Regions from separate parts of the Homo sapiens genome. Here region 2 is linked to region 1. Evidence: promoter capture Hi-C in 16 types of primary human blood cells and fetal thymus (Javierre and others, 2016). All regions are on one chromosome and are shown on one strand. Each heading gives the region's core, a stretch centred on a gene start or on the middle of the fragment in contact. The rest is flanking DNA. Distances are from core to core; before and after follow the strand shown.

Region 1 (6,363 bases), core at 1,964-4,463:
GTATAGTGTTCAATGAGATAGTAGAGGCTGGACAGGTGGCTCATGCCTGTAGTCCCAGCACTTTGGGAGGCTGAGGCAGGCAGATCACCTGAGGTCAGAAGTTTGAGACCAGCCTGACCAACATGGCGAAATCCCATCTCTACTACAAATACAAAAATTAGCTGGGCATTGTGGCACACGCCTGTAATCCCAGCTACTCAGGGGGCTGAGGCAGGAGGATCACTTGAAACTGGGAGGTGGAGGCTGTAGTGAGCTGAGATTGCACCGTTGCGCCCCAGCCTGGGTGACAGAGCAAGACTCTGTCTCAAAAAAACAAAAAACAACAACAAAAACAAACAAACAAACAAAAGAGATAGTAGACAGTGCCTAGCACGGAAGAAGCACTCAGTGAACAGTGGTTAAATAACGGCAAAGAACTAACCTGGATTGGCTCCTGCAGATCAGTCATCAAATGGGTTAAGCGGGTGTGGATTCGAGGAAAAGCTAAGAATGGAGGCTAGGAGCATGTGGGATGTGATTTCATTGCTCCAGAGGGACTAGAGCTTGTCGGGCAACAGGAAGGGGAATGACTTGTGAAAGGGGGTGTAGGGGCCACCCAATTGCAGGTGACGGAACAGCCCCTTGGGTTAGGGCTCAGCAGCTGTTCTCTGTGTCCCAGCCAGGATAATGAGGGGGAGGCTGTCTGGTTGCCTGGGGACACAGGCCCTTTGCGCAGTAGCACCAGTAGGAGATACTAACCAGTTCTTCATTTATTAAAATTCTTCAAGTATTAAAGTCTTCTAAGGGGAAAATCCAGGATTTCCTCAGCTTTTCTCTCAGGCCCAGTCCATGGCTTGGTGTGCAGCAAGTCTTTAATAAATGTTAGCATCGGCCAGGTGCCATGGCTCACGCCTATAATCCCAGCACTTTGGGAGGTTGGGGTGGGTGGATCACCTGAGGTCAGGAGTTCAAGACCAGCCTGGCCAACGTGGTGGAACCCCATCTCTACTAAAAATACAAAAATTGGCCGGGCGCGGTGGCTCACGCCTGTAATCCCAGCACTTTGGGAGGCCGAGGCGGGTGGATCATGAGGTCAGGAGATCGAGACCATCCTGGCTAACAAGGTGAAACCCCGTCTCTACTAAAAATACAAAAAATTAGCTGGGCGCGGTGGCGGGCGCCTGTAGTCCCAGCTACTCGGAGGCTGAGGCAGGAGAATGGCGTGAACCTGGGAAGCGGAGCTTGCAGTGAGCCGAGATTGCGCCACTGCAGTCCGCAGTCTGGCCTGGGCGACAGAGCGAGACTCCGTCTCAAAAAAAAAAAAAAAAAAATTAGCTGGATGTGGTGGTGGGTGCCTGCAATCCCAGCTATTCGGGAGGCTGAGGCAGGAGAATCACTTGAACCCGGGAGGCGGAGGTTGCAGTGAGCCAAGATTATACCCCAGCACTCCAGCCTAGGCAACAAGAATGAAACTTCACCTCAAAAAAAAAAAAAAAAAAAAGTCAGGTGTGGTGGCATGCACCTGTAATCCCAGCTACTTGGGAGGCTGAGATGGGAGGATTGTTTGAGCCCAGGAGGTGAAGTTTGCATGCAGTGAGCAGATTGCACCACTGCACTCCAGCCTTGGTGACAGAGTGACATCCTGTCTCAAATCTGAAAAACAAAAAAAAAGTTAGCATCTGTTCTTCCCTCTCGATATACAAAATTGTGGTTAGATCTTATTTTCAAGAATTGCTATGAAGATTACGCGCAGTAGTATATAAGGAGGCATTTTTGCAGCAGCGACATTTAACCCCCAGGATAACTGAGTTCAGAGATGTCAGATAACCTCCTGAATGACACAGGTACTACGGGGTGGAGGGAGGTTTGGGACAATTGGAGCCAGTGGGAGCTGTCAGTGCCGGCGGTGGGGGTCTTCAGCAAGTTTAGAAAGTGAGGAGGGCAGCGCTGGGCAGAGAGGAGGGCAAGTCAAGTCTCTAGGCAGGGCATGGCTTTGACGGCAGGCCTCACAGTAAGATGGGTGTGCTGGATTCAGGATCTAGACGGTGAGATCCCAGAAAGTGAGGCAGGTAGTGGAACCAAGGGAAGACCTCTCTCGAAGCTTCTTGCCGCTCTTAGAGATGAGGGAGCGAATGTTTTTGGGCATGGACCAGACTGTATCTCCCAGAACTCTCTTGGCAGCCTTGCCAGAGGGGTGCTGTTCTCCCATTGCACAAATGAGGCTGCTTAGGCCTGGAGAGGGTAAGGACCTTGCTCAAGGTTGTACAGACTGACAGCGACGGAGTCAGGATTGTGACCCAGCTTTGCTCAACTACAAAGACTGCCCTCTTTCCACTACACCATGAGGTCACCGTGACCCCCAGGAAACAGGGGGATGGACAATATCAGATGACCTTTTAAAGATCTTTGCCAGCAGAAACATTTTCTCAGTCTCTGCTCCTTGGTCTCCCTCCACACTCACCCCTGCCTCCTCCCGCTCTCTTCCCTCCTCATTACTCAACCAGGAGTAACCCCACTGGCTATCTATCTGTGGGTTGGGGGAGGAGACCAGCAGCTGTAGTTACTCAGATTAACCCTCTGCTGCCTGCCCACCTCCCCTCCACCCCATGGATGTGTTGGTGAGGAACCCCCCTCCCCGCTCCCCTGCAGGCAGCCACTGGCTGAGGGGCACTTCCCAGAATTAGCCACTGTGAACAGCTGGCTGGGGGGCGGGGTTGAGGGGGTAGGTGGTAGAAAGGAGGCTAATAGCTTCCAGATGTGCCAAGGCACGAGAGCCTTGGGAGCTTCAGTTTCAGTGGTCTCCTGTGACTGGGATGGGTTGGCCCTCGTGTCCAGGACTCCAGAATTACTAAGGCAGCCAGGCAGATCCCGACTTTCAAGCTGCATGCAAATCTGTGTGCAGGGTAAGGTTGACCTCCAAGCTGCACCTGCAGGGGCCCCGGGAAAACCCCTGCAGCCCAGCTGCTCTCTGTGGTATTAATACTAACACCATCTACCATGTCTACACTGCCAGTAGCATAGGCAACAGAGCATGGTAGTTTCGAGTGCAGGGTTTGGATTCACAGCGCTTAGAATCAAATCTCAGCTCAATCTCTCAACCAGTTCTGGGACCCAAAGCAAACTGCTCAGCTTCCTTAGCCATGAAATAGTTTCTATTTCATAAAGTTATTATTAGTATTAAATGAGATAATCTATGCAAAGTGCTTAATGCAGTGCCTGGCACATAGGAAGTTGTTGTCATTTAGAGAATACCTACCTTATTTCAGAGGCTATGCAATTTTATCCTTGCAACCCTGGAAGTTAGCTATGAGTAGTCTTACTTTTATGAGGCTATATCAAGGCTCAGAGAGGCTAAGTTACCTGTCCAGGATCACACAGGTGTCAAGTGCAGGGTTGCAACTTGAACCCAGGCCAAATGAACCCTAAAGCCCAGGCTCATTATCCTGTGCCCCTCCCTGTGTGTGTGTGTGTGTGTGTGTGCGTGTGTGCGCATGTGTTTTACATTTTCCCATCAGTAGAAAGAGGTTGTAGGACCTGCTAGGGGCTGAGGGCATCATTTTCTGTCCTGCTTACTGAAGAGAGGCCTGACCCAGAAAAGTAGGCAACAGCTTGGGGGTTCAGAGGGGCCCTGGAAGAAGGCAAGTGCCCTGGAGGGGACACCAGGGACAGGAAATTTCAGGAACATGGAAGGAGCAGAGGACAGAATATCAGAGGTTGGGAGAAGTCCAGGTTGTCCTAGGGTGCCCTCAAAGAGTATCCAGAGCCCCCATGAGCGGATCCTCAGGAGCCACTGACTGCCCTTTCCCTGGGTGTGTTTCTTGCTTTGCCAGTTGCTGCTCCTCTTCTGCACGTCTTCTCCTTGGCTAGTGCAGGGTGGTGGAGGGTCTCCAGAATTCCCCTTTACAGGATGGGGAGGACGGGAGACCAGGGAGGAGGAGAACCAAGAGCGAAGGGGCTGGAGCCAGCCAGCAGGGAGGCCCGCCATTGGCCCAGCTCCCAGGGCCTGGGCCTGAGGACTACGGAGCTGCCTGCCCCTCACCATTCCCTCCCACTGCCCCCTAGGGCTCCTTGGCTGCTGAGCCTGCCAGATGGGCCCCCGCCAAGCCAAACAGCTGCCAGGGGGAGAGGAAGAAGCATTTCCGAGCAGAGAGGCCCCTGTAGGCTCCTGCTGAAGCCTAGAATCCCCCTTTCTCACCGCCAAGTGAAGGGGGAATCTGTGCACATGCACATAGGCATGCACGCATGGCACTGGGGAGCCCAGGCGCAGGGCCACGGGACCTGGGACATGCAGGGGCAGAGGGGTGGGGGTCTGGAAGCAGGCTTGGGCAGGGACCATGGCTGTGCCAGGTAATAGGGAGTCTGGGGAATTAAGCTTGGCTCACTCTGAGGTTGGGGAATGTAGTGGATTGAATAGAGACCCCCAAAGTTTATGCCCACCTGGAACCTGAGCATGGGACCTTATTTGGAGATAGGATCTTTGCAGAGGTAATGAAGGTGAGGATTGAGATGCGATCACGCTGGATTAGTGTGGGCCCCAAATCCAGTGAAAGCGTCCTCCTAAGAAACAAGTAAAAACACTGAGAGACGTGGTGGGGACAGCCGTGTGAAGACGCATGTGAAGGTGGTGTCAGAGACTGGAGCCCACAGCCAAGGAATGCTTTGAGCCACCAGAAGCTGGACAGGAACTTGGCCCTGCTGGCATCTCAATTTCAGACTTCTGGCCTCCAGAACTGTGAGAAAATAAATTTCTGTTGTTCTAAGCCACCAAGTTTGTGGTCATTTGTTTCGGCAGCTCTAGAAAATGAAGACAGGGAGGCATATGGAGGAGGGTTGGGGTGGGGGGAGTGGGTAGGTGGAGGCTTCATAAGAAAGCCTTGGAAAACAGGATACAAAATATTGACCATTTATCTTGCCACTATTCTGTGCCAGGCACTTTTAAAGATATTTATCTCTATCCTCACAATGACCCTGCCACAGAGAATTATGGTTTCCATTTTACAGTGAGGTTCAGACCCAAGTGAACTCCATTTAGTTAGGATTCCAACCCAGGATCCTCTGTCTCCCAAGCCTGGCCTCTGTCCACCTTCTTTCAAGGGTGGCCCCAGTAGATTCCAGGGCAGATGACACTTGCTTTCAAGTTGGAGGGGTCTCCAGGAGTCTGAGAGGGGAACATAATGATGCTCTACTGGGAAACAGGGGAAGAGGCCATTACTGCTCTGGGGGCCTGCTGTGCTGGATGCCCTAGAAAATCTCGACTCACCACGATGTTCCTGTAGGCCTCAGTGACATGGCCAACGGTTTCTTCATGGTCCTGTACCCTACAGAGGGAGGCATCCCTACTCACCTCATTCCCACTATGACAATCACATCACTCCCTCCACCACCATCGCTGTCTCCATCATTGCCACCTCCATCACCACCGCCATCACCTTCACCATCATCCCCTTCACTGTTACCATCACCACCCTGAAACTGCTATAATGGCTGTCACGACCAGTACTTCTGTGTCCATGTCACCATCTCCATCACAACCCCTCTACCCCCACTACCATCACTGCAAAATGGTGGAGAGGTGAGAGGCCGGTAAGTCACTCAGGGAAGGACAGGACAGCCGAGCAGGATTTAGCAGGGGAGGAGGAGGAGGTGGGATGTGTCTGGCTGACAGACAGGGTCCATAGTGAAGGACTGCCCTAGGTTCAGCCTTGTTGAGAGGGAGGTGAGTCTGCCTGGCTGGAGTAAACACTTGGTAGGACAGGCTGTCTTCGCGGGCGTTGGTTTGGGTGGGTGGAGGCTATTCTAGCAACACATCCTGCCCCTGCCTGGCTCACGATGGTCTCTGGGGGATGTGGATTTTGGCGGGTCCCTGGCTCGTGGCCACCTGCCTGGCCTGGCCTGGCCGTAGCAGTGAGGTCATGAGAGTGGCTGTACTGGGAGTACTGGGGAGTGGGGTGGAAAGGAGGGGCGCGCCCTGGCTGGGAGAGGAAGGCCTCTCTCCCCTGGCTGACTCTACCCATAACGATCATAACGATGAAGTAAGCACGAGCCTGGACACTCCATCTCCCCAGACTGCCCTCCCTCCGGCCTGCCCAGCTTGCCCCGGGCCTGGGTTCTGGGCGCTGCAGGCTCTCTCTGCCAAGGGCTCTGGGTTTCCCATTCCCTGGTGACATCTTGATAGTTGGATCAGCCACCTGAGGGAATACAGGGGCCAGAGGCTCTGATCTGGGTGTAGGGAGAGAATTGACTGTGGAGAAGGGCGTACTATTTCTCCACACTTCCTCCTTGTTAGACTCAATATGCCTGTGTGTGGTGTAGGGAGATGGTGGCAGAATGTTCCAGAGACTCGGGCCCCAGCCGCTCCCCTCACCTCTTCCCTGCACACCTGGC
Region 2 (6,363 bases), core at 1,750-4,249, 440 kb after region 1:
AGGGTCCATGCTGGGCCAGGACGAAGGCCCTTCTGAGCACCTCAAAGTAAGCCTGGCGCCAGCCCATCTGTCCCTTCCCCAGGAGGGCCTGATCTCCTCAATGAGAAGCCCCCTCCCACCCTCCAGTCAAATCTTACCCATTCTCCAAGACCCAGCTCAAATTCACCTTCTCGCCAGGCGCGGTGGCTCACGCCTGTAATCCCAGTACTTTGGGAGGCCAAGGTGGGTGGATCACTTGAGTTCAGGAGTTCGAGACCAGCCTGGCCAACATGATGAAACCCCATCTCTACAAAAAATACAGAAATTAGCTGGGCATGGTGGTGCACCCCTGTAATCCCAGCTACTTGGGAGGCTGAGGCATGAGAATCACTTGAACCTGGGAGGTGGAGGCTGCAGTGAGCTGAGATCATGCCACTGCACTCCAGCCTGGGCGACAGGGCAAGACCCTGTCTCAAAAAAAAACAAAAAAAAATCACCTCGAAAAAAGGTCCTGTGACTGCTGTAGCCCACCCTGCAAAGGCCCACAGAGCCATGTGGTGCACACCCACACACATGCACACACAGCATGTACTGCATGTACTGTAGGAGGCCTGCATTCCAGTCCTTATTCTGTCACTAAATCACTTTGCAACCCTGAAGAAAAGGAAGAAAAAGGAACTCTTAGAGGGAAGAAAAGAGACCTCAGAGGAGGAGGAGAACCAGGTTCCACAAAAGTCAACAGGAACCACCAACAGCAGGAACAGCAAACACAGCAAGCCTGATAAAGATTGCCCAGGCGCCAGCAAGGAGCAGGAGCAAAGAGCGCCCAAGGTCCAGCCCCAGGCTGCAGGGAGCTGCGGCAAACACAGCTTGGAGGGTCAGTGTTTATGGGCGGGCTGTGGGTGGAGGATGGGCCAGTGACAGTGGAGGTGAAAGTTGAGGCCTTGGTCCTGGCCTCAGCCTGCATATGTATGTCAGATCTGCAGTTGTGAAACATGAGCTCCCAGGTAGAGTCCCCAAAGTCTTGGGGCCAAGGGAGTGCCTGCTGGTGGTTGGACAAATATTGGCATGGCTTTGAAAGGAGCACCTTGGTTGTGTGAAGGCTTCTCGGTGCTCCCGAAGCCTGTTTTCCGTATGGATGGGCAGGCACACCACCGCCATTTGCCTGGCAAGCCCCCTTGTCTGCAAAGCATGGCCTGGACAGACCTCAGCCCCCACCTCTGGTTAGCCGAGACCCTCTCATTCCTCATCTGCCCAGCATGCCTTCCCTTTCCTGCAGGGCCTGAAGTTCAAAGCCAGGTTCCAGCATTTCCAAATGTGAAACTCCAGATAATGCCCAAGCAGCACACTGAGCAAGAGTCCTGAGGACAGCCCTCCCCCAGGGTGGGAGGCTGTAATAGAGAGGAACACCCGTGCCTGCCTGCACCCTACCCCTGGCACCTCGTCACAGAGTTCATGTCCAGGCAGATCACATTAGAGGCATCCAAGAGGTGCAATAGTGGAATCAGGAGTGGGCAGGGGAGACCACAGGATCCCCAAAGACCACTTCCTCCTTTCACAGCTGGGGGCAGCAGAAGATACGGATAAGAGCTAAAGTTATGGCCGGGCACGGTGGCTTATGCCTATAATCCTAGCGCTTTGGGAGGCCGAAGCGAGTGATCACCTGAGGTCAGGAGTTCGAGACCAGCCTGCCCAACATGGCGAAACCCCGTCTCTACTAAAAATACAAAAATTAGCTGGGCATGGTGGTGGGCACCTGTAATCCCAGCTACTTGAGAGGCTGAGGCAGGAGAATCGCTTGAACCCGGGGGGCAGAGGTTGCAGTGAGCTGAGATTGCACCACTTCACTCCAGCCTGGGCAAAAGAGCGAGACTCCATCTCAAAAAAAAAAAAAAAAAAAAAAATCTGAAGTTATTAGTTTAAATCCTGGCTCGACCGCTTAACAGCTGTGTGACCCTGGGCAAGTTGCATCATACCTCTAGACCTCACTTTCCTCATCTATAAAATGGGAATAGCAATGTCATGGCCTCTGGCTGTTTTAAGGATTAAATAAGTAGGAAGTTCTTAGCCCAGTGTTTGGCACATAATAACAAACCATAATTAATATTCTCGTAGATGAGGAGATTGAGTCCCAGAAAGGAGAAAGGGGGAGGGCTCGCCCAAGGTCAGCTCCTGTTTCAGAGCTTGGAACAAGGTTCTCTGATCCCATTGGGTGCTCTCACACCTGTTCTGTGCCTGATTAGCACCAGGCAGGGCTGAGGGGCACTGGGATGACCTTGACAGTCCCTGTCCTCAGCCATCATACACTCCAGAGAAGACTGCACTCTGGAGCAGAGTTCTTAGCTCAAAGCATTCCCACTTTCCAGTGCAGAGGCAGGACATGTGGTCAGACCAGTGGCCTAACCTTGCCAGACTGGGGCTAGGCAAGGAGAGTGTTGCAGGTGGAATCGTGTCCCCCAAAAAGGCATGTTGAAGTCCTGGCCCCCAGTACTTCAGAATGTGACCTCATTTGGAAACAGGGTGGTTGCAGATGTAATTCGTTCAATTAAGATGAGGTCATACTGAAATGCATGGGACCCTAGCCCCATATGACTGGTGTCCTTATAAGAAGAAGAGACACAGAGGAGGGTGCCATGTGAAGACAGCAACACAGGAAAAATGCCATGTCAGTGAGAAAGGGGCTTTTGGGAATGAGAAGGCTTTCTGGATGTAAAGGTCAGGTTGGTGTGTCAGGGACAACCCCTTCCTGGAAACCTTGGGCTGAAAAAAAGGGACTGGGACCTACCCTGATGGGATGACCGTGATACAGTGAGGACAGCCAGGCTGGTGGAGGCTGTGCAAGGCAGGGGTGCTGGGTCATCTGTCCCTAAAGCGGGTAGCCCTCAGCTGGGTAAGGGGCTGGGTTACTGAGAAGGAGAAAAGGGAAGGCAGCTGTTAAACCGGCTGCTGACCTAGGAATCCCACTGCAATGAGAGAGTTCTGGGGGGAGGGTCTCTTCTCCCCCTCCCACCAGAACCTTCAACTGTCAAGCACCGAGCTAGCCACCAGCATGCTGTACTCCCCAGGTAGGCACTCATGGGGCCTTGCCCCACTCCTGTACCTCCTGCAGGCTAGAGCCTCCCCCCAGGGGAGGAGCTGTGTCCCGCATCAGACTGGGTGCCCCTTGAGGGTACAGAGAGTGACTCTTCCATCAGACTGGATGCCCCTTGAGGGTACAGAGAGTGACTCTTCCATCAGACTGGATGCTCCCTAAGGACAGGACCTGGGCCTCGTTCTCAGACTGTTTGGGGAAGGATAGGCCACTGGTGGTCAGACTGGGTGGTAGGCCGGGCAGGAACTCTTTCTCCTCTCCACTGACAGTTGGAGTTGGGGAGAGGAGAGGGGCCGGCCATCCCACTGTCATGGCTGCTGGGGAAAAGGGTTTGTGTGAAAAAGCCCACGTAGAGAAGAAAACTTTAGGGAACAGAGAGAACCTCTCCTAAGCCTAGAAAAGCAGGTCCCTCAGCCCAGGAAGATGAGATCCTCAGGGTGGCAGGGGCAGGACTACCTGAGGCAAGCCTGGGACCAGACTCCAGGAGATGGGGGAGAGTGGGCTGGGGGGAAGGGGAGGGCTGGGCAGAACTGAGTTGTTCCTGTGGGGCTAGGGTGCACAGAGGGCAGCCAGCCTTGGCCAGCAGAAGGTCAGCCCTGTACCTCACCCTCAGCCTGGGGCACCGTGAGACCATGGGCCCCTAGACCCAGCCTCCCAGCTTCTCAGGCCCTCCCTGTTTACCTGACCCTAGGAAGTTTAGGCCTAGCTGGTGACCCCAAACCCAGTCCTTGTTCTTCAGAAGTGCCCTGAGCCCAGGAGTTCAAGACCAGCCTGGTCAGCATAGCAAGACCTCATCTCAAAATATAATTTATTTATTTATTATTATTACTTATTAGTATTTATTTTTTTTTAAAGTTCCCTGACACAACATCTTAGTTTTTTCCCAGTGCCGGAAATCAAACTGTCCTTAAATCTATAGTCCCCTAATAACAATGTATTGCATTTAGAAAATCACTGAGAGAGGCCAGGCACAGTGGTTCACGCCTGTAATCCTAGCACTCTGGGAGGCCAAGGCAGGTGGATCATCTGAGGTCAGGAGTTCGAGACCAGCCTGGCCAACATAGTGAAACCGTGTCTCTACTAAAATACAAAAATTAGCCATGCGTGGTGGCGGGCGCCTGTAATCCCAGCTACTCGGGAGGCTGAGGCAGGAGAATCTCTTGAACCCAGCAAGTGGAGGTTGCAGTGAGCCGAGATCGTGCCACCGCACCCCAAGCCTGGGCGACACAGCGAGACTCCATCTCAAAAAAAAAAGAAAATCACTGACAGTAGATTTTAAGTGTTCTCACCACAAACAAATAACAAGTATGTGCAGTAATGCAGATATTAATTAGCTCAACTGAGCCATTCCACAGTGAATACATATTTCAAAACACCATGTCGTATACAACAGATATATACTTTTTTTGTCAATAAAATAAAACTGATTTAGTTAAAAACGATCTGGCCGGGCGCAGTGGCTCACGCCTGTAATCCCAGCACTTTGGGAGGCCGTGGCGGGCAGATCACGAAGTCAGGAGATCGGGACCATCTTGGCTAACGCGGTGAAACCCTGTCTCTACTAAAAATACAAAAAATAAGCCAGGCGTGGTGGCGGGCGCCTGTAGTCCCAGCTACTCGGGAGGCTGAGGCAGGAGAATAGCGTGAACCCAGAAGGTGGAGCTTGCAGTGAGCCAAGATCGCTCCACTGCACTCCAGCCTGGGCGACAGAGTGAGACTCCGCCTCAAAAAAAACCTCAAAAAACAACAACAACAACAACAACAAAATGATCTGTAGGTTCTCAGTCTGATGGAGGAGACAGGATGTGCAGCTGCAGCAGAAAGCTTCCTGTCCATTCATGCCTTTTAACATGCAGCAGCCCCTGCTTTCCACGCAGTTTCAGTTACCCGCTGTCAACTGCAGTCTGAAAACATCAGGATATTTTGAGACAGAGAGACCACATTCACATTACTGTTATTGTATTGTTGTATTTGTTATATTTTATTACTTATTATGGTTAACTGCTTACTGTGCCTAATTTATAAACTAAACTTTATCATAGGTATGTACATAAAGGAAAGACATAGTATTGATATATACAGGGTTTGGTACCACCCGCAGTTTCAGGTGTCCACTGGGGGTGTTGGAACGTACCCCTAGGGTTAAGGGGAGCTACTGTGTTGCTCTGGCCATCTGTCTGTGCTTCCCACAGGCAGCCTTGGTCTGTCTGTCTCAGCCTTCTCACGCTCCTAGCCCATGTGACAGCTTGGATCTTTTGCCCTCTCTAAGGGGATATTTTCTTTTGGGTTTTTTTTTTTTTTGGTGTTTTTGTTTGTTTGTTTGTTTTGAGGTGGAGTCTCACTCTATTGCCCAGGCTGGAGTGCAGTGGCCCAACCTTGGCTCACTGCAACCTCCACCTCCCGGGTTCAAGCGATTCTCCTGCCTCAGCCTCCTGAATAGCTGGGACTACAGGCATGTGCTACCACACCCAACTCATTTTTGTGTTCTTAGTAGAGACGGGGTTTCACCATGTTGGCCAGGCGGGTCTTGAACTCCTGACTTCAGGTGATCCGCCCACCTCAGCCTCTCAAAGTGCTGGGATTACAGGCGTGAGCCACAGTGCCCAACTTAAAGACATTTTCCATGACAACTGTGGTGGTGTGGATAGGTGTGTCAGTCCTTCCTGCAAGTCAGAGCTGAGTAATGACCTCACACCCTGGGGACTGGGTATGCAGCTTCGAAGCAGGGTTTGGGGGCCAGACAGTGAGAAATGACTTGTTGGGCTGGATGGTGACTAGGGGACAGAGGGCTCTGGGGAAATGAGACAAGGGAGTTAAGATGGAACCTGAATTGCCTTGGCCTGCCCTCTGATGTTCTTTCAGTCTTCTCAAACAACAGCATCTTCCCTGGTCCTTCCAGGCCCCCAGGAGAGCTCAACACCCTCAGTCCTCGGAGCAGCCAGGGTAGAGGCTGCCTGGAGTGACTGCACGGTGCAAGGGCATGGAGTGGTTTGCCTTATCGTGTGAATGACCTTAGATGATTCGCTCAACCCAGGTTTGTCAACCCCAGCTCTCTTGACATTTTGAACTGGAAAATTCTTTATTGTGGAGACTTTCCTCTACACTGAGGGGCGCCCAGCAGCATCCCTGGCCTCTACTTACTAGATGCCAGTAGCTCCCCTGAGACCTGCCCCAGTTATGACAACCAACACTGCCTCTAGACGTTGCCACCTGTTCCCTGGGGGCCGTAATCACCCCGGGTTGAGAACTTCTGACTCAATCTCTCTGTGGAGGCCCTGGCTTCCACCCAGCTC

What was found. The method cuts DNA at HindIII sites, captures the fragments that hold promoters and counts their contacts. A CHiCAGO score of 5 or more calls a contact.
Region 2: a contact is called between the fragment with the promoter of CAPN11 here and a fragment that was not itself captured in region 1, in 10 of 17 cell types (neutrophils, naive CD4 T cells, activated CD4 T cells and 7 more). The highest score is 11.5, in neutrophils.

Annotation. Positions count from the first base shown.
Region 1 is chr6:43,712,184-43,718,546 of GRCh38, forward strand. No RefSeq gene overlaps it. Among named protein-coding and RNA genes, the nearest start is that of MRPS18A, 28 kb to the left of the region's middle. The HindIII fragment of the contact is 2,271 bases long and covers 2,079-4,349 here.
Region 2 is chr6:44,155,821-44,162,183 of GRCh38, forward strand. It overlaps CAPN11 (calpain 11), which reads left to right and starts at 3,000. Exons shown (of 23, transcript NM_007058.4): 1 at 3,000-3,044. The coding sequence starts at 3,029. It overlaps LOC107986599 (a long non-coding RNA gene), which reads right to left and starts at 2,783. Exons shown (of 3, transcript XR_002956350.2): 1 at 2,765-2,783. RefSeq lists an enhancer at 4,177-4,346 and a silencer at 5,730-5,819. The HindIII fragment of the contact is 9,288 bases long and covers 1-4,892 here.